6 separate regions of the Homo sapiens genome follow, and all the other regions are linked to region 1. The links are contacts of gene promoters, found by promoter capture Hi-C in blood cells and fetal thymus (Javierre and others, 2016). All regions are on one chromosome and are shown on one strand. The core of a region is centred on a gene start or on the middle of the fragment in contact, and the rest is flanking DNA. Distances in the headings are between cores, read along the strand shown. Region 1 holds the start of PADI3 (peptidyl arginine deiminase 3). Region 2 overlaps PADI6 (peptidyl arginine deiminase 6). Region 3 overlaps SDHB (succinate dehydrogenase complex iron sulfur subunit B). Region 4 overlaps PADI2 (peptidyl arginine deiminase 2). Region 5 has its middle 4.0 kb from the start of RCC2. Region 6 overlaps RCC2 (regulator of chromosome condensation 2).

Region 1 (3,995 bases), core at 749-3,248:
GCATCTATTCCCCATCTGTGCTCACAAGAAGGCTAGGGAGACTAAGGCTTCCTCCTGAGCTCGAACTCTTACCCAGGGCTCCCAAGGCTGACTCAGCCATCAAGCCATTCCACAGCTGAAAAAAGTGAAGCTGTCCCTTGACCCAGAAGCCCAGCAGTTCTCCTTGAAAAGAACATCTTTCCCAAAAACTGAGACATGGGAATGACAATCTCAGGGTCCTGTTGAGGCCCTTGAACTGGTGCAGATGTCCCAGCTGGAGATGCTGGGGAGCGGGTCCTGGTCCCCATCCTGTCTCAGGCTGTCAGCACTGCCAGGGAGAAGGGAGGAAACCTCTATTCAGCACCTCCTGAGCCTCCGCCAGGCAGGGTGCGTCTTCACTATTATCTCCGCCAGGGCCAGTGATTAGCTGCATTTTCTACAGATGAGGAAACCGAGTCTCCAAGAGGGGGGACACTGACACCCAAGGCCCTATAGTGGGTGCACGGTGGAGCCTGCCTCTGAACCCAAGACTTCTCTCCCCAGAGCCCTTGCTCCTGCTCTTCCAGGAGCCTGAATGCCCCTCTGACTTCGGTTTCCCACCTGACGACTGAGCTTTCCTACTCTGACATGCCAAGCTCCCCCTGGCTGGAGAGAGTTCTCACCCTCATCATTTACCGCTTTCAGAGGTTTTTGGGACCTAATAACAGCAACAATAGTAATACAATAACGCCAAGCTCCATACCAGAGCTCTACCAACGCTGGCCCCTGAGGCCTCACAGCAACCATTTTTCAGACGAGAAAAGTGAGGCACGAACAATTAAGAAAGTTGCCCGGCCGGGCATGGTGGCTCACGCCTGTAATCCCAGTACTTTGGGAGGCCAAGTCGGGTGGATCAAGAGGTCAGGAGATCGAGACCATCCTGACTAACACGGTGAAACCCCGCCTCTATTAAAAATACAAAAAATTAGCCGGGAGCCGTGGCAGGCGCCTGTAGTCCCAGCTACTCGGGAGGCTGAGGCAGGAGAATGGCGTGAACCCGGGAAGTGGAGCTTGCAGTGAGCCGAGATCACGCCACTGCACTCTAGCCTGGGTGACAGAGCGAAACTCTGTCTCAAAAAAAAAAAAAAAAAGAAACTTGCCCAAGGTCGCCCATCCAGGAAGCAGCTGAGGCAGGGCTGAAACCCAGGTCTGGCTCTAAAATCCATTAAAAAAAAAAAGTTGGTGTTTCTCAAAGGGCACCAAAATGCTTTGGGGGTGCTTATTAAAAAATCCAGAGGGCCGGGTGCTGTGGCTCATGCCTGTAATCCCAGCACTTTGGGAGGCCGAGGTAGGTGGATCACCTGAGGTCTGGAGTTCAAGACCAGCCTGACCAACATGGAAAAACCCCGTCTCTACTAAAAATACAAAATTAGCCGGAAGTGGTGGCACACGCCTATAATCCCAGCTACTCGGGAGGCTGAGGCAGGAGAATTGCTTGAACCTGGGAGGCGAAGGTTGCGGTGAGCCGAGATCGCACCATTGCATTCCAGCCTGGGCAACAAGAGTGAAACTCCGTCTCAAAAAAAAAAAAAAAAATCCAGAGGCCAGGCTGCACCCCTAACCTGCTGGATCAGAGTGGACAACAGACCTGGGAATCCGCATTTTCACCAGCTTCCCCAGCAGAGTAAGAAAGCTCCCCATTATAGTCTCTGAAAATGCAGAAAATGGAGGTGAGGAAGCAAGAAGCGTCCGAGATCAATATCATATATCTCTGCACCCCCTCAACAGCACCTGCCCCCAACAGTTCCTGGTGCCTAGCCAGGTACCTGTGGGGACTTGCTTCCCAAGAAATTAACTTCCTGGGTGCCGGGGTCGGGACAACAGGTTCGTATACAAATACTGGGTCCCTTCCAGCCAATCCTGAGCTCTCAGCTCTGGGAAGGGGCTGGGCTTTCATGACTGGAGCCAATGAATTGGCACCCTGGGCTGGAGGGGTGGGGCCAGGGGCTTTTAAACCTCATCCTAAGGGGCCTCAGGGGCAGTGTTGGGGTTGGCGGCCACAGCTAAGTCCAACACCAGCATGTCGCTGCAGAGAATCGTGCGTGTGTCCCTGGAGCATCCCACCAGCGCGGTGTGTGTGGCTGGCGTGGAGACCCTCGTGGACATTTATGGGTAAGAGTCAGAGGCCTAGTGGTTTGCAGGCCCTTGGTGCTGATGCCCTTGGACCTTCCTCCCTGCAGGCTGGGCAGGGCTTCTTCAGGGCCCACTCCCCAGCCTTGGCCTCGGAACAGCAGCCAATCAGGGAAGCTTGGGTCCTCCTCTTGCTCTACTGAGTTTCCTGAAGACCTTAGCCAGGGAATTTGAAGTTTGGGAGGCTGAGCCAGGTAGAAGAGGCTTCAGTGACTGAGCTCCAGACCGGGGGCTTGGAGGGGGCTGGTGCCGCGAAGAGATGGCACTTTTCTATGTCCAAGGGATGCTGCAGGTTGGGCTGAGGATCTGTCTGGGGCACACAAGAATAGGAACAGGCAGATATCCCCAGCCCCATCCTGAGCCTATGAGCCTAGAAACAGAGCATGAATCATTTTTAAAAAATAAGTTAATACATAGCACTTACCATGTGCCAGGCACTATTCTAAGAGCTTCACAAGTCTCTTGAGTTAAGTTTTGAACTTTAATCTTGAATTTAACCCTTACAACAACCCTGTGAGCTAGGCTTATTATTAGCATCATCTCATCAGACAAATGAGAAAACCGAGGCAGAGAGGGCAAGCCATTTGCTCAAGTCACACAGTTACTAAGTGGCAAAGCCAGGGTTTAAACCCGCTTGTGGTCTTACTCAGGAGTCTTATGGTTTTAGCTGCTCTGATACTTGGAAAATAAAGATTTCCAACCTGGTTTCCTCTAGACACTCAATGCCCATGCATTATGCTCCTACTGTGTGCCAGGTCATGCCTTTGAGGCCCATGGTAGAGGGAGGTAAGGCCTTATCTTCTCTCTCTTAGGAAGAAAAGAGGGTTAGGGTAGGGTTTTAAGAGCTGGGCTCTGGGGACCACCAGGGAGCTGGCTTCTTAGGCTTTTGGGGAGAATCCAGGGTCCTGGCTTGGAGGTAATCAGGATACTGGGAGGGGAGGGTGCAGAACTGTGGGACAGCTCTCACCTCTCAAGTCTCCCAGCCCTCTCCTCAGGCCAGGTTTCTCAACCTCAGCACTGCTGTCACGATACCTCTTTGTCATGGGGGCCACCCTGTGCACTGTAGGATGGAGAGCAGCATTCTGGGCCTCTCTTTGCTAGATACCAGCAGCACACTCCCGAGTTGTGACAACCAAAAATGTCCCCAGACATTGCCAAATGTGCCCTGGGGTGGGAAGAAAATAGCCCACCCATTGAGAACGAGTCTCCAAGACTAAGACTCGAAAAATCAGGGCGAACTTAGTCGGGAGCAGCGATGGGGTTGATCCAGGGCATTGGATGAGAGGGGGTGAGGAGCTGGTCATGGGAGGGAACCAAGTCGGGAGCAGAGCCAGCCCAGGAAATAAATCCTGGTATTGGTGGGTGGGCAGTAGGAGGAGGAAGGGGATTCAGTGGTTCTTGAAGGAAGGGGCAGCCACGGAGGCTGTGCCAAGGAGGTAATGAGGAAGGAGGGGTATCTGCCACTTGGCACCACTGCCTGCCTGCCATGGGGTGACTGGGCTGCGTGCCATGGGGTGACTCACCTGCCCCTGCTGCCTCGTGCCCGTTGGGCAGATGTGTCTCCGGTTTGACCTGTCCCAGGAAGCCTGGGCCTGGCTCCTCCCCCGCAGAGCTTCCTTAGAGGATAGAGGATGGATTGGGGCAATAAGAGATAAAGGCCATAGCTTCCTGGAGTCACCTGAGCCACACTGGAGGTTTGCAGAGAAGGCCATCGGTGGGACAGCCACAGGGTGGGGGATGGAAGCTCTGATACCTTCAAATGAGGGATTCTTGGGCCCTGGTGGCCAAACCCCCCAGGGGTGGGAGTGGAGAGCTCCTAGTTCGTTCATTCACATATTCTTCAAGTA
Region 2 (4,114 bases), core at 1-2,500, 130 kb after region 1:
TGCCTCAGCCTCCTGAGCAGCTGGGGTTACAAGCGTGTGCCACCACACCTGGCTAATTTTTTTTTGAGACGGAGTCTCGCTCTGTTGCCCAGGCTGGAGTGCAGTGGCACGATCTCAGCTCACTGCAAGCTCCATCTCCCAGGTTCACGCCATTCTCCTGCCTCAGCCTGCCGAGTAGCTGGGACTCTAGGTGCCTGCCACCATGCCTGGCTAGTTTTTTTTGTATTTTTAGTAGAGACGAGGTTTCACTGTGTTAGCCAGGATGGTCTCGAAATCCTGATCTCCAGTGGTCCACCTGCCTCGGCCTCCCGAAGTACTGGGATCAGAACTGATTAAATTTCTAGCTCACTAAAAAAAAAACCAGAATGTCTGGCAACTCTAGGCTCATGTCCTACCCTGGTTGTGGAGTCTCCTAGATGAGAGGATTAGCCGCTGCTGCCAGGTGGCACGTCTCTTTTCCAATTTGCCTCGGTCCCTGATTCTCTGACTCTGAAATATGAGGTAAGTAACTGGTAACCCCGAACCTAGCTTCTTTCCCTTCCTCTTAGCCTCCTTACCTGACATGACCTTCCTGTGCCTACAGATTCTTGACCTCACCAGTCCTGTTCCATGGGTCCCTGTACCCTGGAGAAAGGCTTGGCTGGGCCCCTCTGCTATGAGGTGCATCCGAGAAACAGAAGATTTATTTGGCTCCTTCCTGAGCCAATGTTCCCATCTCATTTGCAGAAAAAATGGATCTGGGGTCCCAGCGGTTGGGGTGCCATCCTGCTTGTGAATTGCAACCCTGCTGATGTGGGCCAGCAACTTGAGGACAAGAAAACCAAGAAAGTGATCTTTTCAGAGGGTAGGACCTCAGACTGTCTCTGCCTTTCCTTCTTGGTCTCTTTGCTGCCCTGCTTCTCAGCAAATGGATTCCAGACTAATTTTCTCCACCCCACCCCCGACACCCTCTTCCCCAGTCCCCATGCCTGGGCTGATCAAACCTTTTGTCCTGAGTTGTAGATGTATAATTGGGTAAGAGAAGTCACATAGCCCCATGCAAAGAGCATGGGTGGTTACTTGTTTCCTAGCTGTGAACTTGAGCACACTAACTTCCCTGATCTTGTTTCCCTATTTGTAAAATGGGGATGATGCAGTTGGCCTCCCAACTATATCAGTTGGTTGACAAGACTAAATGAAGACAATAGGGGTATATGCGCTGCTTTCTAAAAAGCCTCTCATAGTCTGGGCCAGGAACCTTGGACTGTCTTGGGTAAAATTCGCCTTGGATCCTGACTTGCGGTTGGGACCAGGGTTCTGGGTCTTAGCAGTAGAATGGAATGTCTTGTTTCCTACTGAGACTGGAAACAAGACTGGAAACAAGGTGAACCTTCACTGAACTGATCGAGGTAGGCCCTGTTCTGTTTGTGGGGGACCATGGGATAAATCCCATCCTCCCTCAAAAGGAGGCCCTGAGGTTTGCAGCTTGCCTGTAGCCACCTAGAACAAGCAGTGAAATGGTAATTCTTCGGGCCTGGGCCCTAGCAAAAGGCAGGGGGTCCTTGGTGCTCTGTTCAAACTCCCGGCCCCTCTCTACTGCTCTTCCCTCCACCCCCAGAGTGCTGGCCTCCAGACATTCCTTAACCTTTGCTTTGTCTTTTGCCCAGAAATAACGAATCTGTCCCAGATGACTCTGAATGTCCAAGGCCCCAGCTGTATCTTAAAGAAATATCGGCTAGTCCTCCATACCTCCAAGGAAGAGTCGAAGAAGGCGAGAGTCTACTGGCCCCAAAGTGAGTGTTCTTGTGCCAGCTCCAGCTTTGCCTGCTCTCGACGTGCCAGGCAAGTTGTGCCCACACCTCCTCCCAGCAAGGTCCCCAGCAGAAGCCTGCTGGAGACCTAGAGCTGCAGATGAGAGGCTGTTGTGGCTGTACTTGTGTTTCCAGGATTCTCTGGCTGCCACCTTCCCCATAGGCTAAATCTGTACACATGGGTGAGTTATTGCACCTCTAAGCCACTTTCTCCACTTGTAAAATGGGGGTAGCTGTGCCTTCCCTGCAGGCTAGAAGAGAAGAGAGACATATCCACTGAAACAGTAGCTATTGCCTTACACAGAGTAGATCACATCTCCCAGTGACTCCTCTCAGGAGAATCCATCTTCACTCTAAACCAATGATCCACTATGTTAAATTTCCAGAAATCTGAGGCCAAAACCTCTAGAGCGGCAGCCACGGTAGCACCTGCATCCCAGCCACCACGCCATCCACCACCCATCTTCAGCCCTCCTCTCCTGGGAGGCAGGTAGCATACTCTATTCTATAGATGGAGGGCTGGTTAGGAGGTACACATGCCCAACTCCAGCAAAACAGCCTTGCACATCTTTTGACTTCCCTGAACTGGCTCAGGACTTGGCGTACCTCTAAATCTCTCATTGAGAGCTAGCTCTGCTTCTGGACGGACATGCCAGCATGCTTTCTTTGGGTTTTGTTTTGTTTTTCCCCTTTGAGTCAAGGTCTAGCTCTGTCACCCAGGCTGGAGTGCAGTAGTGTGATCACAGCTCACTGTAGACTAGACTCAGCTTCCTGGACTCAAGCAGTCCTCCTACCTCACACTCCCAAGGAGCTGGTATGACAGGTGTGTGCCACAACTGGCTAATTTGCTTTTCTTGTAGAGACGGGGTCTCACTTTGCCCAGACTGGTTTCAAACTCCCGGATGCAAACAATCCTCCTGCCTTGGCTTCCCAAAGTGCTGGGATTACAGGTGTGAGCTACTGCACCCGGCCCAACCTGCCACCTTGTCTTGTAAACCATGCTTAGCTTCAGCTACGCAACGCAGGGAGCTCTGTGGTCTATACTGTGCCTCTTCTCAGAGGGCACCATCTTTGTTGCCAGCATTGGAGAGTGTGCCCCTGCCACTTCCTGGTCTACACTCTGGGGCCTTGGCTCAGTCTCCTACTCCATCTCTTCTGCAGACCATAGATCTCAGCTGGATTTCAAAGTAGCCTGGGATTAGCCAGAAAAGGTAGCCCAGCTTGGACGTGGCCATCTTACACATGAGCTAGAGTGAGCCGAAGAAACCCAGGGGTCTAGGTCTGGTTCAGGCCACAAGGGCTACTCTGGCCCTGGGAGGCTACCAGTGCTGAAGTAGGTGGATTAGGCCAGGCAGGCCTTGGAGTCCGCCGGTTCATGTAGCTTGCTAAGGATGCCATACTTCATCATGTGGATCATAGCGAACTACCGGTTTCTTTATTGAAAAAGCTTATTCAGGCTGGGCGTGGTGGCTCATGCCTCTAATCCCAACATTTTGGGAGGCTGAGGCAGATGGATCACCTGAGGTCAGGAGTTCGAGAACAGCCTGGCCAACATGGCGAAACCCTGTCTCTACTAAAAATACAAAAATTGGCATGGTGGCGGGCATGCCCGCCAGCTACTCAGGAGGCTGAGGCAGGAGAATTGCTTGAACCCGAAAGGCAGAGGTTGCAGTGAGCCGAGATCATGCCACTGTACTCCAGCCTGAGTGAGACTCAAAAAAATAATTTTTTTAAAAAAACTTATTCAACAATCTAGGGGCTGAGCACGGGGCTTATGCCTATAATCCCAACACTTCGGGAGGCCAAGGCAGGCGGATCACCTGAGGTCAGGAGTTCGAGACCAGCCCGGCCAACATGGCAAAACCACATCTCTACTAAAAAATACAAAAGCTAGCTGGGCTTTGTGGCATATACCTATAATCCCAACTACTCAGGAGACCAAGGCAGGAGTGAACCTGGGAGGCAGAGGCTGCAGTGAGCCGACGTTGCACCACTGCACTCCAGCCTAGGTGACAGAGTGGGACTCTGTCTCAAAAAAAAAAACTTAAAAATCAGGGTAGGGCAACACAGCATGTTATGTTTTAACAAGCCTTCCAGGTGACTCTGAAACATGCTAAAGCTTGAACCACAAAAAGATACAGCAAAAGAGTCTGAAAAGTTTACAGAGGAATAGAAAGCCAGAATACAGGGTTCTAGAAACAGGCTGGGTGTGTTGGCTCACACCTGTAATCCCAGCACTTTGGGAGGCCAAGGCAGGAGGCTTACTTGGGCACAGGAGTTCAAGACCAGCCTTGGCAACACAGTGAGACCTTGACTCTGAGATA
Region 3 (4,214 bases), core at 1,108-3,607, 210 kb before region 1:
TACAGGTATGTGCCACCACATCCAGCTTAATTTTTGTATTTTTTTGTAGAGGTGGGATTTCGCCATGTTGCCCAGGCTGGTCTCTAACTCCTGGACTCAAGTGATCCTCCTGCCTTGGATTCTCAAAGTGTTGGGATTATGGGTGTGAGGCAATGGTGCGATCTCGGCTCACTGCAACCTCTACCTTCCGGGTTCAAGCGATTCTCCTGCCTCAGCCTCCCGAGTAGCTGGGATTACAGGTGCATGCCACCACACCCGGCAAATTTTTGTATTTTTAGTAGAGATAGGTTTTCCCATGTTGGCCAGGCTGGTCTCAAACTCCTGACCTCAAGTGATCCACCTGCCTCAGCCTTCCCAAATGCTGGGATTACAGGTGTGAGCGACTGCGTCTGGCCCATTATCTGTATTTGTATCAGCACTATGTAGACGTCCTTTCTGCTGGACCTCTGCTAACACTGGGAATTGGAAGCTTTAAAAACCTTTGCTATTCTGATACTGGAGAAGTGTTATTGTTTTCAGTGTTTTAAATCGAGACTTTTGAATACTACATAGGTTGAATGTTTGTCATAAATTTACTAATTTTTCTTTATTTCCCAATTATTTATTGAACATTTACTCTGCCAGGTTCTGTTCTAGATGCTGGGGATGTAGCAGAGAATAAAAGAGACGAATACCACCTGCCCGCACAAAGCTCTGTTCCAGAGGACTCATTCTAGAGACTCAGTCTGTCCACATTCTTTGCCTCTGTTTACCAGGGTCTTGGAAATTCTTTTTCATGATCTGAGGCTCTTATATATTATATCTGTTGCCATTTCTGCTTCCTCCCTCACTGCCAATAGTAATGTGCTATTTGACTTCTAATTTTGGTAACAGAATTTTAAACATACATGAGTTAAATGTTTACATTAATAAAGGTGGCTATTCTTTCTTTTATAACATTATCTATCACTTTTAAGCCTAAACAGACCACTGCCCTTCCTGAGGTCTGATAAATACTTTACATTTTTTTCTACTTAAAAAAAATTTTAAGTTACTCCCCTAAAACTGCAAAAACTGTATCAGTTGTCCCAAATCACTGACTAAATCCTCTTTTGCTTCTTATTTGTAATACCTTTCTCCCATATTTAATACTGGGAACTTAGATAAAATTGAGTCTGTTTTGTTGCTACATTTTTATTCTAATGATCTGCCTGTTCTTGTCCTAGCATATTTTAAATGACAACAACATCTTTGTTTTTTTTACATTACAAAGGCTAATATTTGCAGCCTATAAAAATTTCAAATTGGCCAGGTGGGTGGCTCACGCCTGTAATCCCAGCACTTTGGGAGGCACTTTGGGAGGCCTTGGCGGGTGGATCATGAGGTCAGGAGATTGAGACCATCCTGGCTAACGTGGTGAAACCGTCTCTACTAAAAATACAAAAAATTAGCTGGGTGTGGTTGCACGTGCCTGTAGTCCCAATTACTTGGGAGGCTGAGGCAGGAAAATTGCTTGAACCCCAGAGGCGGAGGTTGCAGTGAGCCGAGACCGCACCACTGCACTCCAGCCTGGGAGACAGAGCGAGACTGTCTCAAAAAAATAAATAAATAAATAGATAAATAAATAAATAAATTCAAATCAAAGGTAAAAAGTAATCCTGCAGATCATACTGGGACAGAGAAAAATATTAAAAAGTCAAAGTCCTCTCTTTAAGCTGTTTCATGCTAAATTTCCTAATAGGTAGGGCTCATTAAAGAGTACAACATAAATTTTCTCAGATTTTACATAGATACCAAAATTGTTTGATATTCTGGGTCCCTTGCATTTCTATAAGATTTTTAGAATCAACTTGTCAACTTCTGCAGAAAAGGCAGGTGGGATTTTGATGGGGATTGCAATGAATCTGGAAATCAATTTGGAGACCACTGCCTCCTTAACAACATTAAGTCTTCCAACCCACAAACAGGGCATGTCTTTCCATTTATTTATGTCTTCTTAAATTTCTTTCAACAATGTTTTACAGTTTTTCAGCATATAAGTCTTTTACTTATTTGATTTTTGAGACAGGATCTCACTCTGTCGCCCAGGCTGGATGGAGTGCAGTGTTGTGATCACAGCTCACTGCAGGTTTGACCTCCCAGGCTCAAGTGATTCTCCCACCTCAGCCTCCAAGTAGCTGGGACTATAGGCACAGGAAGGTCATCAAGCCCAGCTAACTTTTTTTGTAGAGATGGGGTTTTGTCTTATTGCCCATATAATTTGTTCCTAAGAATTTCTTTTTTGATGCTGTTATATGGAAAATAGTTTTTAAATTTCATTTTAGGATTGTTCATTGCTAGTGTATAGAAATCCAATTTTTGTTTTTTTAACAGTACTTACAGGCTTTTTTCTAGGTAAGCAGGGTTTTACATATATAAATATAAATATTTATATAAATATGAATATATAAATATAAATATTTATATAAATATGAATATATAAATATAAATATTTATATAAATATGAATATATAAATATAAATACATATATAAATATATATGTATACACACACACACACACATTTTTTCTGTAGAGACTAAGTCTTGCTATTGTTGCCCAGGCTGGTCTCAAAACTCCTGGCCTCAAGCAATCCTCCTGCCTTGGCCTCACAAAGAAAGTGCTAGTATTACAAGTGTGAGCCACCATGCCTAGCCTAGAAAAATACATTTATCTGCTAATATCTGCTACACGCCAGTATTTTCAGAAAAAGAATTATGCTGTTGTGAAAATGAAAGAATATAGCTATTTTTTGTGTGTGTATACATAGCTACAAAGTAGGGTTTCAGAGTCGGATTAGAAGGAAATAGAACTATAATTAAAACATGGTACAATATAAAATGAAGACTGACAGACATAGGTTGAAATAAACATGGACAAATTATGCATAATAAAAAACTAAACTACATTTGATTTCTGTATACCAGTTTTGTGTCCTCCAACCTTGCTGAATTTGTTCATTAGTTCTAATAGTTCCTAGGGGGCAATGTCTTATATTTTCTTTTCTTTTTTTTTTTTGAGACAGCGTCTCCCTCTGTTGCCCAGGCTGGAGTGTAGGGCATGGAATCATGGCTCACTGCAGCCTCGACCTCCTGGGTTCAAGTGATCCTCCCACCCCACCCTCCCAAGTAGCTCGGACTACAGGAGTGTGCCACCACACCTGGCAAATTTTTTGAGACACAGTCTTGCTCTGTTGCCCAGGCTGGAGTGCAGTGGCGTGATCTTGGCTCACTGCAACCTCTGCCACCTAGGTTCAAGCAATTCTTGTGCCTTAGCCTTCCAAGAAGCTGGGATTACAGGTGTGTGCTACCATGCCTGGCTAATTTTTGTATTTTTAGTAGAGACAGGGTTTTGCCATGTTGTCCAGGGTGGTCTTGAACTCCTGGACTCAAGTCATCTGCCTGCTTTGGCCTCTCAGAATGTTGGGATTACAGGCGTGAGCCATCGCACCCAGCCTGGCTAATTTTTTGTTTGCTTTTTTGTAGAGATGGGGGTCTCATTTTGTTGCCCAGGCTGGTCTCCAACTCCCAGGCTCAAGCAATTCTCCTGCTTCAGGCCAGGCACAGTGGCTCACACCTGCAATCCCAGCACTTTGGGAGGCCGAGGTGGGCAGATCACCTGAGGTCAGGAGTTCGAGACCAGCCTGACCAACACGCAGAAACCCCATCTCCACCAAAAATACAAAAGAATTAGCTGGGCGTAGTGGCAGGCGCCTGTAATCCCAGCTACTTGGGAAGCTGAGACAGGAGAATTGCTTGAATCCGGGAGGCGGAGGTTGCGGTGAGCCAAGATTGTGCCATTGCACTCCAGCCTGGGCAACAAGAGCGAAAACTCTGTCTCAAAAAAAAAAAATTCTCCTGCTTCAGCCTTCCAAAATGCTGGGATTATAAGCACAAGCCACTGAGCCTGCCCAAGGTTTTGTGTAAAAGATTATGTTATCTATGAGAGACAGTTTTACTTCTTCTTTTCCAATTTCCTTTTCTTTCTTTTTCTCACCCAATTTCCCTGGCTAAGCCTCCAGTAAAATTTTGAATGGCTGATGTTAGCATAAATAGAATTATCTGTAGCCATTGAAATACACACACACACAAATAGTATTTTGCATATTGACCTTACATCCTGCAGCCTTGCTAAATTTACTTATTCTTTTAGTTTTGTAGACTCCCTGAAATTTTCTATGTAAACAATCATGTTACCT
Region 4 (4,225 bases), core at 1,306-3,805, 180 kb before region 1:
TTCTGTGTGCATGTGTGTGTATATATGTGTCCATGCATGCACATGTGTTTATGTGTGCTCATGTGTGTATATATGTGTCCATGTGTGCATATGTATTGTTCTAACCTCTTTTTATGTTATAGAAGACTCCCCTCTATGTAACAGAAATCCCTCCTGTACATAAAGGACTTCTAATCTTTTGCACAGCACTTTCCTATCTGTTAAGGAAAAGGGTTCCCAGTATCCCAGTGAAGCAGCTAGGATGAGCATATCACTCCTAGGAGGAAATGGAGGCCCAGAGAGGGCAAGTGCCTGAGGTGAGGTCACACAGCAGCTCAGCCAGGATTGGGACCTGGGCCTCCCCATTGGACAGCTTCAGCTGAGGGGTCCTTCTGGATCTGGCTGCCCTGTACTGGCATGGGGCGAGGGTTGGGGTCTGCAGGGCCTCACCATGTTTGGGAAGAAGGCTCTGGCACGGTGGTCCTCGTCCATCTTGAACAGAGCGGGCAGGTCAATGATGTCCTGCTCTGTCAGTCCCAGCTCCTTCTTGAGGATGTCACGGTTCCAGTCTAGGCAGCGCTGGGTAGGAGAAAGGATGGAGGGCATGCAGGTGAGGGGGACACACACCGGCCACCTTGTCAACCCCATCCCTGTCTGCAGCACCAGGCCAGGGGCCCCGGCACTCCAGAGAGACTTCTAGCAGTCAGCGGGCGCCTCTGCAGCCTCTCCCTGGCCCTGTCCACCGGGGTTCATGAACAGCAGTCGTAATAGGACAGAGGAAGGTCACAGATGCCAGAACAGCAGCTGCCATTTCCTGAGCACTCACTAGAGCCGGTCCCTGTGCTAAGTGCTTCCCACACAGCACCTCAGTGACCCCTCGGGCCACCCCATGAGCTGAGGATAACACTGATGATTTTGGTAATAACAAAAGCTAATGCGTACATGTGCTTAGTACTGTTCTAAGCGCATTACATAGATTGCCTATTTAAGCTCCAGCCCTGTAATATAGATGCTATTATTATTCCCTTTTAATTTTTTTTTTAAGACTGAGTCTCACTCTGTTGCCCACGCCGGAGTGCAGTGGCACGATCTCGGTTCACTGCAACCTCCACTTCCTGGGTTCAAGTGATTCTTCTGCCTCAGCCTCCCAAGTAGCTGGGATTATAGGCGCCTGCCACCACGCCAGGCTAATTTTTGTATTTTTGGTAGAGATGGGGTTTCAACATGTTGGGCATGTTGGCCTTGAACTCCTGACCTCAGGTGATCTGCCCACCTCAGTCTCCCAAAGAGTTGGGATTACAGGCATGAGCCACCAGGCCCGGCCAAAGTTTTTATTTATTTTTTTTGTAGAGACAAGTGTCTCACTATGTTGCCCAGGCTGGTCTCAAGCCCCTGGCCTGAAGCAATCCTCCCGCCTTGGCTTCCCAAAGTTCTGAGATTACAGGCATGAGACACTGTGTCTGGCCCCCATTATCCCCTTTTTAGAGATGAGAGACCCAAAGACAGCCTTAGTGAGTTGCCCATGGTCCTACCTCCCCAAGTGAGGGGGCGGCACAATTTGGCACTTCTTTAACCCTGGGACTTTAGCCCAGGAGCAAAGCAAGGAGGCTGGCTGGATGCTGGTGGAGGCTCTTCCCTGTGCTGCTGTGCTCGGGGTCAGGAGCTCCTGAGCCCTTGGCCATTCTCTACGGAAGCCCCAAGGATGTAAGGGCCTGAGCCTCATCCCTCCCAGGGGCCCTCTGGCCCTGCACCCCTGCCCTGCCCTCACCTGGAAGTACAGGTTCTCCTGCACAAGGCTCTCGTTGGACAGAATCTTGTTGATGGTGATTCGCTTGCTGCTCATCCCACCCAAGCCTGTGGGGTTCAAAGGACAGGGGATGGTCAAGCTTTAGATACCCAGGCTGAGTGTTCCCCTTTTGCCAAGATCCTCCAGGCCTGGGCTAACTGCTGGACTGGGACTGGGGAGATGGGACTGGGGAGAGGCTGGATCACAGGAGGGCACTCCCAGGCAAAATCAGGCCCCCCTCTGTCTGGGGAGGGCAGCACACACTCTTTTCTCCAGAGTTGACCATGACATCTGAGCCAGGACAGTGGTGGCAGCTGCCTTGCTCTTGCTTTGGCCAGTGGGATCAGGGGTGCTACAAGTAGCCCCCTGGTTCTCCCACCTACAGCCTACTCCTAAGGATGAGCAGCTGACCAGCATGAATGTGGCAGAAGCAGCATGGCCAAAGGGGACACCCTTCCTGTTTTCCAGAGCTGCCTCATCTTGGCTGCTGCTCTGGAGTGGCCTGCGTTTTCCTCCTGTACCACACGATGGCTTATGTGGCTTCCAGCTTGATTAGTAATGCCTAATGCTCAATGAGCACCTACTATGTGGCCGACGCTCTTCTAAACGCTTTACATTGAATTAACTCATGGATCCTCCCCACATTTCTATGGGGTAGTCACTACCCTGAAAAATGAGGAAACTGAGGCACAGAGAAGTTATGTGACTTGTCTCAGGACTTACATCTAGCAAGCGGCAGAGTTGGTGTGCAGATCAGGCAGTCTGATTCCAGAGCCTATGCTCTTAACCTATTATTTGTTTATTTATTTTGGCCTCATCTGGGAAGAGACTGCTGGTCCATTGCACTTCCCAGGTTTATAACTGGACAGCAGTAAAGATGCCCAGCTACAAGCCGGATGTAATCTTTGAGGCTTAGGGACTCAGAAGGGAGGGTCCAGGTAGAAACAGAAAACTTTAGGGATCTGTGATTTTCTAAAACTGATCCAAGTTCAGGAGATAGATTGATATAAGCATTTTTCTGGAGGGCAAGTCTGTAGTTTTTATCATCTTTTAAAGGGATGTGTTTTCCCCAAACATTGTGGGCTCTGGTCCAGCGGAGATCTTGGCTCTTTGGCATTGCCTGGTTCACCTTCCTCCCCAGGTCTCCTATGTGCTTCTACTCTCTGCTGACTGCACATCCGCGCATCCTCTCTCTGTCTGTCCCAATTACATGAATGTCTAAGTCCAGGAGATAATGTTTCACTCCTGAACTGACAATGACGATGCCTGACCATGCCTTCTGTCCATCAAAGTCCAGTTTTCTTCCTGTCCCCAAACTGTATTCTATCTATTTTCTCTCTATCTCTCTTTCTAAAATACAAAGAGAAATCTGGGGCACTGCTTGCCCCTATTTGTACAAAAATAATGGTCCCTATATCCTATGGGTAGTTTTTGAGGGTATGTTTAATATTAGAGAGGAAGCCTCCAGGAAGTCAGGACTCAAGCTTGCCAATCCAAGAACAAACTTCCCATCAGTGGGGAATTTAAAAAGGGTGGTGGTGTTAAATTGGTCTTGTCTGTCCTAGACACCAGTGACAGTCAGGAACACTGTCTTTGGATCTGAGGGGCAGTCATGTAAGTATCAACCAGCTGCGGGAACTCAGGCTTTCAGGCATGAGATATATTATGGATACCAACCTGAAAAGTGACAAAAGTAATTTAAGAAAAAAATAGGCCGAGCATGGTGGCTCACGCCTGTAATCCCAGCACTTTGGGAGGCCGAGGCGGGTGGTTCATGAGGTCAGGAGATTGAGACCATCCCGGCTAACATGGTGAAACCCCACCTCTACTAAAAATACAAAAAATTAGCCGGGCGTGGTGGCGGGCGCCTGTAATCCCAGCTACTGGGGAGGCTGAGGCAGGAGAATGGCTTGAACCTGGGAGGCGGAGCTTGCAGTGAGCCGAGATGGCACCACTGCACTCCAGCCTGGACGACAGAGTGAGACTGTGTCTCAAAAAAAAAAAAAAAAAGTATAACGGATATAGAGAGTGCTGATGGTTAGTCAGCATTGTAGATGTATTTAATGTCCCGGAACTGTGTCCTTACAAGTGGTTAAAATAACAAATGTGTTAGATTAGGTATATTTTATCACAATAAAAAACATGTTGGACATAAGGATGGCAATGGCAAACACTGGGGACTATTAGAGTGGGGAGGGAGAGAGGAGGGAAAGAGTTGAATGACTAACTGTTGTCTACTATGCTCAGTACCTGCGTGATGGGATCATTCATACCCCAAATCACACAATACACCCAGGTAACAAACCTGCACATGTACCCCCTAAATCTAAAATAGAAGTTGAAAAAGAAAAAAAAGAAGTATGAGGAATTGGCATGGTGTCTCTAACCTGGCTGGTTGTCTCCACCTGATCATCTTTCCCTCTTTCCGTGATTAATTCAAATGCAAACCTCATCCCGACT
Region 5 (3,711 bases), core at 893-3,392, 190 kb after region 1:
GAAAATGACACTTCCTCCTTCAAACTGTGCTTGGAATTTCACCTCGCTTCTAATTGAGCAAATTCTCCAGGGACAGGATGGTTTGGTGCAAAACCGGGAGAGGGGAAGGGAAAGAAGGTGGCTGAGATTTCTCTGACACTTTGAGGCACAGGTGTCTGGCACTGTGCTGAGCATTTTACACCCAGAATTTTGGAAATGTGGCTGCAAGTGCCAGCCTGCCGTCACTCTTTAACCTCATCTTCAGCAAAATCATATTGCAAGTTAGATTCAGCTACGCTTAAGTTCTTTTCCAGGGGTGAGGTGTGATTTTTTCTTTCTTTTTTTTTTTTTTTTTTTTATTTTTTTAGATAGAATCTTGCTCCTCCAGCACCCAGGCTGAAGGGTGATGGTATGATCCCAGCTTACTGCAGCCTCTACCTTCCTTGCTCAAGCGATCCTCTCGCTTCAGCCTCCCAAGTAGCTGAGACCACAGGCATGGACAGCTACACTTGGCTAAATTTTTTTTCTTTTTTAATGTTTTGTAGAGACAAGGTCTCTCTCTGTTGCCCAGGCTGGTCTCGAGTGGTCCTCCCACCTCAGCCTCCCAAAGTTGCGGGATTATAGGGGTGAGCCACTGTGCACAGCCTCAGAAGTATAATTCATTTTTTTTTTTCTTTTGAGGTGGGGTCTCGCACTGTCACCCGGGCTGGAGTGCAGTGGTGGCAACCTCCACCTCCCAGGTTCAAGCAGTCTCCTGCCTCAGCCTCCCAAGTAGCTGGGATTACAGGCGCATACCACCACGCCTAGCTAATTTTGTATTTTTAGTAGAGACGGGGTTTCACCATGTTGGCCAGGCTGGTCTTGAACTTCTGACCTCGTGATTTGCCCGCCTTCGCCTCCCAAAGTGCTAGGATTACAGGCGTGAGCCACTGTGCCCAGCCTCAGAAGTGTAATTCTATTCAACTTGGCTACAGAAAGCTACACCTGTACTTGAAAGATTAATTTTCTGATCCAGTGTCTATAAAAATGAAACCAGTGATCCTGGGAGTGATGCGCTAACCAATGGAAACGATTCTTTCTCTTTTTTTTTTTTTGGAAACTGGGTCTCACTCTGTCACCTAGGCTGGACTGTAGTGGCGCCATCTTGGCTCACTACAGCCTCGACCTCCTGGGGTCAAACAGTTCTCCTGCCTCAGCCACCCTAGTAGCTGAGACTGTAGACGTGCACCTCCACGCCCAGCTAATTTTTAAAATTTTTTTGTGGAGACAAGGTCTCACTATGTTCCCCAGGCTGGTCTCAAACTCCTGACCTCAAGCAATCCTTTTGCCTTGGCCTCCCACAGTGCTAGGATTATAGGCATGTGTCACTGTGCCTGGCTTCTTTTTACTCTTTTCAATGTGACTACCACAAAATTTAATATTACATATTAAGTTTTTTGTAGCTCATATGTTATTCCTGTTGGACATCACAGCCTTCGAAAGCATAGCTGGAAAACCAGTAATTTCCTCCAGACCCCACTCTTTCTGCATCTGTTCTCTAGTTTCTCCTCTCTGTAAAATGGCAAGATAGAGTTTGGGCTAAATTTCTCTTGAGGTTACTTCTGGATTTCGTATTCCCTGATTCTGAGGACAGTAGTCAGCGGGGAATCCCTGTCATAGTGTTTGGAGAGATGTTTTCTGGGAGATGCAGATCCGGTCGTCCTATTTCTGCCAATGAGTCATGAAATTTTCAAACGCAGAGTCTTTAAATATTGTAGTTGGACCTTTAAGTTCTCTGTCTGTGAGGCATGCCTGGGCTTGGCTTGTGGCTTCTTCATCTTTGTTTTTCTAGCAAGCACCCAGAGCAGCCCGGCGTGTAGTAAGCTGTCAATATATGTTTGTTCATCTAAATAATATCCAGCGGAAGAACTGAAGCCCAGGGAGATGCTGAGGCCTCCTGAGGCCACACAGCTGGCAGATAGGATAGCCAGGAAGTGTACAGGCATCTGCATCAGTAGGAGGATTGTCAGAAACACAGAATCTGGCCAGGCGTGGTGGTACACGCCTGTAATCCCAGCACTTTGGGAGGCTGAGGCAGGACGATTGCTTGAGCCCAGGAGTTGGAGACCAGCCTGGACAACATGGTGAGACCCCATCTCTACAAAAATTAGAAAAAAATTAGCCAGCCGCGGCCAGGCGCAGTGGCTCACGCCTGTAATCCCAGCACTTTGGGAGGCCGAGGCGGGCAGATCACTTGAGGTCAGGAGTTCGAAACCAGCCTGGCCAACATGGTGAAACTCCCGTCTCTGCTAAAATATACAAAAATTAGCCGGGCGTGGTGGCAGGCAACTTAATCCCAGTTACTTGGGAGGCAGAGGCAGGAGAATCGTTTGAACCCGGGAGGCGGAGGTTGCAGTGAGCCAAGATCGAGCCATTGCACTCAAACCTGGGGGATAAGAGTGAGACTTCTCTCAAATAAAAGAAAAGAAAAGAAAAAAATTAGTCAGGTGTGGTGACGCAAACCTGTAGTCCCAGCTACTTTGGAGGCTGAGGTGGGAAAATCGCCAGAGCCTGGGAAGTCCAGGCTGCTGTGAGCCATGATCATGCCATTGCACTCCAGCTTAGGTGACAGAGTGAGACCCTGTCTCAAAAAAATAAAAATAAACACTGAATCTCAGGTTCAGCCCCCAGACCTACTGAATCAGAATGTGTTTTTTTTTTTTTTTTTTTTTTTTGAGTTGGAGTTTCCCTCTTGTTGCCCAGGCTGGAGTGCAGTAGCGCAATTTGGGCTCACTGCAACCTCCACCTCCCAGTTCAAGCGATTCTCCTGCCTCATCCTCACAAATAGCTGGGATTACAGGCACCTGCCACCACACCCAGCTAATTTTTTGTATTTTTAGTAGAGACGGGGTTTTGCCATGTTGGCCAGGCTGGTCTCGAACTCCTGACCTCAGGTGATCCACCCACCTCGACCTCCCAAAGTGCTGGAATTACAGGCGTGAGCCATCACACCCGGCCCAGAATGTGCATTTTTAACAGGTGATTTTTATGCATCTTAAAGTATGAGAGGTGCAGCCAGGCATGGTAGCTCACACCTATAATCCCAGCACTTTGGGAGGCTGAGGCGGGCAGATCACCTGAGGTCAGGAGTTCGAGACCAGCCTGACCAACATGGAGAAACCCCGTCTCTACTAAAAATTAGCCGGGCGTGGTGAGCGGAGATTGCGCCATTGCACTCCAGCCTGGGCAACAAGAGCGAAACTCCATCTCAAAAAAAAAAAAAGTATGAGAAGTGCTACTGAAATCATACCACTTTTCCATACCCTGTGGAAGCCATTCAAAAGGTGGTTTCTCATACTTTAAGATGCATCTAGCTGGGCGCAGTGGCTCACGCCTGTAATCCCAACATTTTGGGAGGCCGAGGAGGGTGGATCACGAGGTCAAGAGATCGAGACCATCCTGGCTAACACGGTGAAACCCCGTCTCTACTAAAAATACAAAAAATTAGCCAGGCATGGTGGCGGGTGCCTGTAGTCCCAGCTACTCGGGAGGCTGAGGCAGGAGAATGGCATGAACCCGGGAGGTGGAGCTTGCAGTGAGCAGAGATCGCGCCGCTGCACTCCAGCCTGGGCGACAGAGCAAGACTCCGTCTCAAAAAAAAAAAAAAAAAAAAAGATGCATCTAGTCCAGGGTGAGGAGGTCCAGGATGCAGAATACCAAGACTCACCAAGCTGGCTGATGTGGTTAGGCTTT
Region 6 (4,108 bases), core at 605-3,104, 170 kb after region 1:
GCAGATCAGGAAGTCAAGAGATGGAGACCATCCTGGCCAACATGGTGAAACCCCATCTCTACTAAAAATACAAAAATTAGCCAGGCGTGGTGGAGCATGCCTGTAGTCCCAGCTACTCGGGAGGCTGAGGCAGGAGAATCGCTTGAATCCGGGAGGCAGAGGTTGCAGTGAGCTGAGATCGCGCCACTGCACTCTAGCCTGGCAACAGAGCGAGACTCTGTCTCCCCTCCAAAAAAAAAAGACTGCCTATCTCGTATTTGTATTCTAAGCATCTGGCTGGTGACTTTATACAAGGTCAAAACAAAGTATTTGGGGGAAGTACAATTACATCCATATAACATCACTCACTTTCTTTGGAACAGAACAGGCTTACGACAAGGCATTTCTAACAGATTTCTCCATTTGGAAACAAAATGTTTTCAGGATGGTTTTCAACCCGACCACAAACTAAGCCTGTTTTAAAAACTATAGCAAGGCTGTGTGCAGTGGCTCACACCTGTAATCCCAGTACTTTGGGAGGCCGAGGTGGGTGGATCACCTGAGGTCAGGAGTTCCAGACCAGCCTGACCAACATGGAGAAACCCCGTCTCTACTAAAAATACAAAATTAGCCAGGTGTGGTGGCACATGCCTGTAATCCCAGCTACTCCAGAGGCTGAGGCCGGGGAATCACTTGAACCCGGGAGGCGGAGGTTGCAGTGAGCCGAGATTGCGCCATTGCACTCCAGCCTGGGCAAAAAGAGTGAAACTCCGTTCTCAAAAAAAAACAAAAAACAAAAAAACAAACAAAAAAACTCTACAGCATGTAACTAAACATCCAGACCCTGTTTTTACAAGGGGTAAATTAACTCAAACGGAGACCCCACCTTAGAAAATCAAACACAAAAGTAAAGAGAAACAAAAAGCCATGGAGCCGGAGCTGAGGAGGGGTCACCTGCGCGGGGCTGGGAACAGCGTCTGTCTGGTTGCCAAGGCCCAGCTGCCCCATCTTGTTTTCCCCAAACGCAAACACGGAGCCCGTTTCTGGAAGAAAGGAAAAATATCACAAAAGGGAAGATAATGGTGAATGTTTTGAACTAGATTTAGAATCAAAGGCATCAAAATAATAAAAACAGCTCATTTGCCAGGCAGAAGGCAAGTGAGACTGCCCAAAAGCTGGCAGTGCAGACGCTTCACAGCAAAGCCATTTCACATCAGAAACTGGGTGTGCAGAGAAACAGAGGGCAGCGTCTCCTACTCCCAGATGGGCCTCCTATGGCCACTGGGGAGGCTCCCAATGCCCTCAAGAAGCCACTCCATGCCAAGGTTCTCAGGGCCTCTTTCTGATCCTGACCAAGAGTCACAAGGGGAACTCCACCACCCCACGCCCCATCCCCAAGGCAGACCACCTGGCCTCTTGCCAAACTGAGAGGAGACACCAGCAGCCACCTCCTTACCCGTCAAGGCCAAGGTGTGGTTCCGCCCACATGCTGCAGACACAATCACTTCGTGGCTAAGACCCTCGATGAGTCTAGGGGCTTCTACTCTCTTGGTGTCACCATGTCCCAGCTGCCCCTTCTCATTTCGACCTGCAGATCACATGAGAGAAAGTAGAAAAGAGAGAGGGTGGTCCAGGCGGCACCACCAGGAGAAGGCGAGTACAAACACACTCTCAAATGATGCCCATCTGTCTCTGGAAGGTACCCTCCAAATTCCCAACAGCCAAGATCCAGAGCAAAGAACGCCCCGGCCCTCTGCCCGCTGGAATGGCGCCTGCTGCAGCTCCCCGGACCTCCTTCCCTGGGGCAGCAGCGGGACCACCCGTGCACACCTCCCACGTCTCTGCTACAAAGGGAAATGAGAGGCTCAGTGTGGTAGGGACACCATGCACAGGCGGGCATGCTCGCAGAAACACGCCGTTCCCACTTAGAGTGCCTGCAAGACAACCACCCCGTCCCTACCCTCTGAGATGTATTTTAAGACAGCACCCCATTTTGACACCTGGCTCACCAGAGTTTAATCACTTTGGTGCTCTGGGCATCCACTGAGGACCATTTGGTGTCTGCCCAATATTTCTCTTCCTTTTTCTACCCTGTAAATGGTGCTCACATAACAGTGCCAATCCCACCCCTAGGGATCGCCCCTCAAGGACTCTCAGCCACAGGAACCCTGGTGACAAAGCACAGATCCACCCTCAACACAACACGCCCAGCCCCACCTCCAGGACTGCTGCAGGTGCGACCAAGGCCCTGTATCTGTGAATTCCAGCGGAAGGCAGGCCTGAGGGCCAACCCCTACCCCCAAGTCCTCTGCAGAACCAAATTCAACTCCAAACAGACGTGGAAGTTGGGTGGGCCAAAAGGAGGGCTGGGAGCCCCTACACCGCATCTAGGTTTCAACACAAACTACCAAGTTCCAAAACAAAAATTCAACCGGCCACTCTCGGATCCCTCCCGATAAGAGAAAAACCACACATGTAACCTGACGTGGGGAAACTGACGGAGATCTTACAGTGGTGAGAAGTCAGGGCAATTCTAGGGGGTTTTGCAACCTTCTCCAGCAATGAACTTTTCACCCTTAGGTTGTGATAAAGGCAGACAGCAGAGCCATTAAGATGAGTTCCAGCTGTCCTGGAGAAGGCTTGCAGGAGCAGCCTCTGACTACAGAAGGAATTGCGACGAAGGGAAACCAGCCTCTGACTCGCTCTAATTAAAGAACGGCGGGCTGAAGGGCCAGCACTGGCACTCGAGCAGGAGAGGCAGATACACCAGCTTCCAATGGGAGCTGCCCAAGTTCATGTGAAAGGCATGTGAATACAGAGCAACAAGTGCAAGTCTCAGTGGACTGAGATGCGGCAGGACAGGGTGAGCGGGCCACAGATGGAGACCCCACATGAGCAATGCGTCAGCCACCCTCCCGTGGTACTCTACTCACACCAGACGCCGCCCCCTGCCTTCTAGAGTGGCGAGCAGTGGGCCTGTGACACCTTCCAACCCTGTCCTCACCAACTGCACTGTCTGCTCGGGGATCACACGTCTTGATGGCGGGACATACATTGTCCCTGCCCACAGGGTCAGAACTGAGGGCGCTTTCAGAGCCACCACGCAAGTGAAGCTCAGCGAGAGATCAGAACTGAGGTATTTTAAGTTTGGAACACTGACATAAAAGGCTGTGTTCAGTGTTGGAACACAAAGTAGGAGGGGTGCTCTGGGGGAAGGGACACACATCTATGCCAACCGGGAGAAAACAAAAACTGTGGCAATGTCAGCATGTCATCAAGAGACTATAAAGTATAAATTTGGGCCAGACACACTTTAGCTTTTTTCAACAGAATTACAAAATTAGCCATGTGCAGGGAAGACAACAGATGTTAATATATTTGGACTTTGGTACAGCAGCTCATGAAATCACAAAAAACGGTTCAAACAGCCCAAAATAAAAATGCAGTCATATGGACTAAAAGCTAGCCAGAGGACCAGCGACAAAGGGTGGGGACAAACGCCAATATGCCCCGCTGGAGGCAGAGGCCGGGAGTCACCAAAAGGGCTGGGGATAAAATGAGCCTTAGCCCATACCCTATGATTGGAATGATCTGGAAGAGGACACGGGCAGGAATGGGCCGGCCGGCTGCAGAGGACAGTGCCGTGGACAGAGGCTAACAGAAGAACTGGAACCCATCCCGAGTGCCCAGGTGAGGAAAAACAGAAGGGAAAGCCGAACAACTCCAAAAAAGCAAACTGAAGTATCTGGGGAAATATCCTAAGAAGCAGACAACACGGACAGTGAGCTGCCAAGCCTGCAGACCAGACTTGGGCAGACCTCAGACACGAGGGCCATGGCGGCAGGGACGCAGCATCCTATGACATGAGGCGGGAGGTAGAAAAGCCAGTGGCATTTCAAGTGGCAGCAACAGAGGTCTCATGTCATATCGTGCCTCAAAGAGGAAGGAAACTGTCTGCTGGAAGGACAGCCTGCCTAACACACTCACACACCTCAGTATCAGAAAAGATCAAGCTTCGGGCAGAAGATTCAGGAAAATGTTCCTTGTGTAAACACAAGGAATCAAAGAAGTAGGGGCTGCGTATGGGCAAAAAATGTCAGGGGGGAAGGGGATCTGCATGTAGCGTGTA

What was found. The method cuts DNA at HindIII sites, captures the fragments that hold promoters and counts their contacts. A CHiCAGO score of 5 or more calls a contact.
Region 2: a contact is called between a fragment that was not itself captured here and the fragment with the promoter of PADI3 in region 1, in 6 of 17 cell types (neutrophils, M0 macrophages, megakaryocytes and 3 more). The highest score is 9.0, in neutrophils.
Region 3: a contact is called between a fragment that was not itself captured here and the fragment with the promoter of PADI3 in region 1, in 2 of 17 cell types (neutrophils and monocytes). The highest score is 14.9, in neutrophils.
Region 4: a fragment that was not itself captured here is called in contact with the fragment with the promoter of PADI3 in region 1 in 11 of 17 cell types (monocytes, neutrophils, megakaryocytes and 8 more); the score reaches 19.3 in monocytes.
Region 5: a fragment that was not itself captured here is called in contact with the fragment with the promoter of PADI3 in region 1 in 1 of 17 cell types (neutrophils); the score reaches 5.1 in neutrophils.
Region 6: a contact is called between a fragment that was not itself captured here and the fragment with the promoter of PADI3 in region 1, in 3 of 17 cell types (M0 macrophages, neutrophils and M2 macrophages). The highest score is 7.1, in M0 macrophages.

The regions. Positions count from the first base shown.
Region 1 is chr1:17,247,100-17,251,094 of GRCh38, forward strand. PADI3 (peptidyl arginine deiminase 3) reads left to right here and starts at 1,999. Exons shown (of 16, transcript NM_016233.2): 1 at 1,999-2,130. The coding sequence starts at 2,039. The HindIII fragment of the contact is 2,587 bases long and covers 1-2,263 here.
Region 2 is chr1:17,380,321-17,384,434 of GRCh38, forward strand. PADI6 (peptidyl arginine deiminase 6) reads left to right here. Exons shown (of 16, transcript NM_207421.4): 5 at 727-844; 6 at 1,647-1,772. Among named protein-coding and RNA genes, the nearest start is that of PADI6, 10 kb to the left of the region's middle. RefSeq lists an enhancer at 946-2,145. The HindIII fragment of the contact is 3,969 bases long and covers 1-3,235 here.
Region 3 is chr1:17,034,285-17,038,498 of GRCh38, forward strand. The region is part of intron 2 of SDHB (succinate dehydrogenase complex iron sulfur subunit B); the gene reads right to left. Among named protein-coding and RNA genes, the nearest start is that of SDHB, 18 kb to the right of the region's middle. The HindIII fragment of the contact is 3,780 bases long and covers 468-4,214 here.
Region 4 is chr1:17,069,659-17,073,883 of GRCh38, forward strand. It overlaps PADI2 (peptidyl arginine deiminase 2), which reads right to left. Exons shown (of 16, transcript NM_007365.3): 14 at 1,748-1,833; 15 at 430-558. Among named protein-coding and RNA genes, the nearest start is that of SDHB, 18 kb to the left of the region's middle. The HindIII fragment of the contact is 1,384 bases long and covers 1,864-3,247 here.
Region 5 is chr1:17,441,867-17,445,577 of GRCh38, forward strand. No RefSeq gene overlaps it. Among named protein-coding and RNA genes, the nearest start is that of RCC2, 4.0 kb to the left of the region's middle. The HindIII fragment of the contact is 6,214 bases long and covers 1-3,711 here.
Region 6 is chr1:17,421,270-17,425,377 of GRCh38, forward strand. RCC2 (regulator of chromosome condensation 2) reads right to left here. Exons shown (of 13, transcript NM_018715.4): 5 at 1,436-1,567; 6 at 934-1,022. Among named protein-coding and RNA genes, the nearest start is that of RCC2, 16 kb to the right of the region's middle. RefSeq lists an enhancer at 782-1,536. The HindIII fragment of the contact is 4,272 bases long and covers 1-3,990 here.